2 separate regions of the Homo sapiens genome follow, and region 2 is linked to region 1. Evidence: promoter capture Hi-C in human tissues and cell types (Jung and others, 2019). All regions are on one chromosome and are shown on one strand. The core of a region is centred on a gene start or on the middle of the fragment in contact, and the rest is flanking DNA. Distances in the headings are between cores, read along the strand shown.

What was found. The method cuts DNA at HindIII sites, captures the fragments that hold promoters and counts their contacts. A contact is called where the count stands out against the background at its distance.
Region 2: a contact is called between a fragment that was not itself captured here and the fragment with the promoter of TUBA3D in region 1, in 1 of the 25 tissues and cell types used here (adrenal gland).

What each region holds. Positions count from the first base shown.
Region 1 is chr2:131,474,679-131,477,378 of GRCh38, reverse strand. TUBA3D (tubulin alpha 3d) reads right to left here and starts at 1,260. Exons shown (of 5, transcript NM_080386.4): 1 at 1,177-1,260. The coding sequence starts at 1,179. It also overlaps a transcript of MZT2A not described here. The HindIII fragment of the contact is 16,461 bases long and covers 1-2,700 here.
Region 2 is chr2:131,417,223-131,419,922 of GRCh38, reverse strand. No RefSeq gene overlaps it. Among named protein-coding and RNA genes, the nearest start is that of LINC01120, 16 kb to the right of the region's middle. The HindIII fragment of the contact is 3,797 bases long and covers 1-2,700 here.

The DNA of each region.
Region 1 (2,700 bases), core at 11-2,510:
TGGGACACTGCACTGTCCTTTGGTGGTTTCTTTAAACCCTGCCAAGCTGGGTGTGGTGGCTCATTCCTATAATCCCAGCACTTTAGAAGGCTGAGGTGAGAGGATCACTTGGGACCAGTTTGAGACCAGCCTGGGTAACATAGTGAGTCCCTGTCCCTATGAAAAATCTACAAATTAGCCAGGTGTGGTGGCACACACCTGTAGTACCAGCTACTCGGAAGGCTGAGGTGGGAGGGCTGCTGGAAGCCAGGGGTTCAAGGCTGCAGGGAGCCGTGATCCTGCAACTGTGCTCCAGCCTGGGCAACACAGCATTTGTTGAGTGCTGTCTCAAAAAAAAAAAAGAAAGAAAAAGAAAGGAAAAAAAGGATAACTGACAAACCACAGCTATTCAGACTTGGGACTTGGGAATCTGTTATGTTAATGGGCTGCTTTTTTTGTTTGTGTCTTTGAGGCAGGGTCTCTGTGGCCCAGGCTGGAGTGCACTGGCGCCATCACGACTCACTGCAGCCTCAAAGTTCCAGGCTCGGCTGATCCTCCCACCTCAGCCTCCCGAGTAGCTGGAACCACAGACTCGCATCACCATGCCCGGGTAATTTTTGTATTTTTTTGTAGAGACTGGGTTTCGCCATGTTGGTCGGGCTGATCTTGAACTCCAGACATCAGGTGATCCGCCCGCCTCCACCTCCCCAAGGGCTGGGATTCCAGGCGTGAGCCGCCGCGCCTGGCCTAACGGTTGCCTTTAGGTGAACAAGGCAATGTTGCAGCAGCGTCTGAGCCTTAATTCCTCATCTGATCAATGTCCACAGCCCCAACCCCCGTCACCGAAGGCTCCTGGGGCTCCTCAGTTGTTTCGAGTAGCACAAAGACGTGTGAAGCGGGAGCAGCGCCCTCCCGTCTTCAGGAGGCGACGCCACTATTTGCTCTCTGGGGGACGGGACACCGTCAATGGTCCCGTTCACTAAAGGCCGGCAGCTTCATCTAAAACAAAAGCCGCCGTCCCTGCCCTGGGACCCAAAGATCCAGGAAACGATCCCGTGTCCTCCTGTCCCGCACTAGACCCTGCGTCCTTCTCTGGCCTCCTCTCAGCGCCCAGGCCCGCAACAACGTCCCTCTGTCCACCCGAGGCCAACTTCGTCTGCCTGGGCATCTGCGGGGCGGGAGTGACCCGGGCCTTACCATGGCGAACTCCGCTGCTTCAGCCCAACGCTACTGCCAGACCTCAACCGGCTGCCACAGCTGCTGAGCGCCCAACTGCAACCTCCTGCCTGTGCGCGCCGCACGGGATTGGCCCGCCGGTGCCAGGCCGCCATTGGCTCGGAGTTCCTGGGAGGCGGGCTGAGGGCCGGATCCCAGTTCTGATTGGCCATTGCTCAACATGTGTACTGGGGACGCTCTCTGATTGGATGTAGGATTGGCGGGAAGGCAGCGGGGGTCATCAAAGGCTGCGCGGTTGCTGAGGCATTTCCGGGGTGTCTTCTGACCAGGGTTGGAACAGCTACTGCGCTGCCTCTGTGGGTCGCGGAACATTGCCTTGCTCCCAGTGTGCCACTGCCCCTCCCTGATTGCCCCAGGCCTGCCCCTCTCCCTGCCTAATTCAGATCTTTGCAAACAAGGCCACCTCTGAGAGGCCTTGCCGCCATCTACCCAAGTCACAGCAGCACCGCAATTATCCCCCTCTTCCCTGTTCCCACCCAGCACCTGGGAAGTGGCAGGATTCAATCACTTTTGTGACCCAAAAGGAGAAAACGGGCCGGGCGCGATGGCTAACGCCCGCAATCCCAGCACTTTGGGAGGCCGAGGCGGGTGGATCACCTGAGGTCAAGAGTTCCCAAGACCAGCCTGGCCAATATGGTGAAAACCCGTCTCTACTAAAAATACAAAAATTACCCTGGCTGGTGGTAGGCACCTGTAATCCCAGCTACACGGGAGGCTGAGGTAGGAGAATCGCTTGAAACTGGGAGGCAGTTGTTGCAGTGAGCCGAGATTGGGCCACTGCACACTCCAGCCTGGGCAACAGAGCCATACTCCGTTTCAAAAAAAAAAAAAAAAAAAAAAAAAAGGAAGAAAGGAGGCAAAATTAACGTAAGTGGAGACGTTGGGTCAGGCACACCAGCTCATGCCTGTAATTCCAATGCTTTGGGAGGCCATGGCAGGAGGACTGCTTCAGGTCAGGAGTTCAAGACCAGCCTGGGCAACGTGGTGAGACCCACCTTGCCCGTTTTTACAAAAAATACAAAAAAATAAAATAAAATTAGCAAGGCACGGTGGCGCATGCCTGTAATCCCAGCTACTCAGGAGGCTGAGGCAGGAGAATCCCTTGAACCTGGGAGGCAGAGGTTGCAGTGAGCTGAGATCACGCCACTGCACTCAAGCCTGGGCGACAGAGCGAAACTCCATCTTGAAAAAAAAATAGAGTTTATTTGGGCCAAGTTTGAGAAGTGCAACCCTGGAGATGCAAGTTGTCTTAATATATTGGCAGCAGTTATAAGTGGGTTTTATAAAGGAAAAGAAGAGGCAGTTCCTAAGTTGTTTACCAAGAATTTGAAATTAGAGAAGAAGTCTTGCTGTGTTGTCCAGGCTAGTCTTGAACTCCTGACCTGAAGGGATCCTCCCACCTTGGCTGGCCTAGCCTGAGGAATTTATATGAAAATAACGTAAGCTATTTATTGGGTCAGGCGTGGTGGCTCACACCTGTAATCC
Region 2 (2,700 bases), core at 52-2,551, 57 kb after region 1:
ATAAGTGCTTGACATAGGGTAGCTGTTACAATTGTTGTCGATATTAGTATATTACAGCAAAAAACTTGCTTTAATTCTCACATTAGCTGAACAGCATAAAGGGTGAGATGATTTGGTAGTCATGCTGACAAATTGCTTTCCAGCAGTGGGAAGGGAGGCTGCAGGAACAGCAGAGAACAATTCGGGACAAGAAGAAAACAGCAGGGTGCACCAGACGTAGTAATCCCCTAAAACCAAAGGGAAAGCCGCCCGCTCCCACGCAGTAAAACTAGGAGTATCCAGGAATGAACAAACCCGAAAAGAACGTGAGCTGTTTTCCAAAACGGAGACCTCCTCAGAGGATGAGGCCGGGCATTTCCTGGGACAGCCTGTGTTAAGACCACGTGCCCCTTGCCCTAACAACTCACTGTAGTACTCTTCATAGACACATCTTGCAGCATTTCTCTTAATACTATGCTTGTTTTTCTTTCTAAGCCACCACAAGCCATAGTGATAGGTTTGCCCTTTGGTACAAAAGGTGCATTAAAACTGGTGGAAAAGGCTTACTGCATTCTGGATAACCTGTGTGCATACTTTATGAAATCTCTTGTGTGGGGAAAAAAATGCTTTTTACAATTTGACCTAATTATATGCATTGTAAAATAAACACCATTATTTCAAACAAAACACCTATCTTTTTACAATATGTTTTATTTCTGTTTGAATTCTGTTGTTACAATGTTAGTGTTTTAAAATGTGATGGAAAATATAATGCTTCTAAGGAGGAAAGCCAGTGGAATGAATGTTTAAAAGATCTTCATGTGTTTACGGTCTGCAGAAGGATTTTTGTGATGAGAGGGGATTTTTGAAAAATCTAGAGAAGTAGCATATGGAAAATTATAATGTGTTTGTGTGTATATGTGTGTGTGTGTTTTACAAAGATTTCTGCTCTGTTTTTAGCCAGAAACTCTAAAAACTAAAATAATAACAAAGAAAAATAAATAAAAGAGAGACAGAAGTGTCTGGATTCCTGTTTCCTGGTTACCCTGCCATGGTAGACATTCTTTCATTTCATGATCATGATTCTTCTTGTCAACACCGTTTTGAGCAGCACCAGAAAGTGACTTTGTCCCATTAGGACTCAGGTACTAATTAGTCGGCCAACTCTCAAGTATAAGAATAGCCAGCCAGGCGCGGTGGCTCACACCTGTAATCGCAGCACTTTGGGAGGCCGAGGCAGGCAGCTCACCTGAGGTCAGGAGTTCGAGACCAGCCTGACCAACATGGAGAAACCCCGTCTCTACCAAAAATACAAAATTAGCCGGGTGTGGTGGTGGGTACCTGTAATCCCAGCTACTTGGAGAGCTGAGGCAGGAGAATCACTTGAACCCGGGAGGCGGAGGTTGCAGTGAGCTGAGATCATGCCATTGCACTCCAGCCTGGGCAACACAAGCGAAACTCCATCTCAAAAAAATATATATATTGGCCTTTTGCTAACACAGTAAGCATGTATTCTCTATAAAGCATTCAATAAACGCACAATGTCAAGAGGAATTAAAATCCTATCTAATCCCACTCACCACTACACAGAGGTAATCACTGTTAGTATTTTGACATATAATTCTCCAAGTGTTTCTTACGCACTTCTAAAATGATTTGAACAAATAAAATTAGGAGCCTACTATACATGTGTTTCCTAACCTGCCTCCTTCACTCGGTCCTTATTGAGATCAGTTTTCATGTCAAGAAGGTGGATACCACCTCATTTCTAACAGCTGTGTTATATTCCATAGTAGGCATTACTCAACAAACCCTTTGCTCTTGGATACTTAGTTTATTTCTTCACTGACCACACTGAATAAACATCTCAATAGCCAAACATCTGTGCACATCCTTCATTAGTGCCTTGGGATAAGTTGGTTTAAATAGCATTGTTGGGCCAAGGAGTATGCTCAGCAAGGAAAATTATTCATCATGTTGTCAATTATGCCCCAGAATGCTTGGACCATCGGTGTATGGAAATGCTGACTTTCAACCCCTAAGATTGTTTCTCCCTCCCCATATTTGTTATACATTTAAAGTTGGAACTGGTGACCACCTTGGGCAAGCTGCCTCCCTTCATCTGTGAGCCATCAGCTAACAACATTCTCAGCACTTCCAACACTGCTGGCAGCTGGGAAAATGAGTGATTTGAGCATCTCAAAGTATATAGCTAAATGGATGGATGGATAGATGATTGATTTCTTAACTGCCGGAAATGCCTATGCAACCTCCTCTATTTTTTAATGACTCACACTTAATAATAATCCCACTTAATAATAATATAAATCACAATAATAATCACACTTAATAATTATTATTATTACTTAATAATAATGTAACTGGTTAACTAGAGAAACTGAAGAATTAATAGCAGAGCTGCCAATAGATCTTCTCTGCCTTGCCTCCTTTTAAGATACATGAGAACCTACAGAAATAGTCTTAGCTTTTACTTTCCAGTTCTAAACAAATGCAGACTGACCATACTTTTGGTTTCTTTCCTTGGATACCTATAAAATTATTCTATTCTTACAACAAAACCCCTGGACTTGTACTAGCTTGAGGGTGTTTCCTGTTGGGGGAACCTGTCCCTGAGTGAAAAAGAAGGGCAGTTTTTTGTTTTTTGTTTTTTTTGAGACAGAGTCTCACTCTGTAGCCCAGGCTGGAGTACAGTGGCACAAT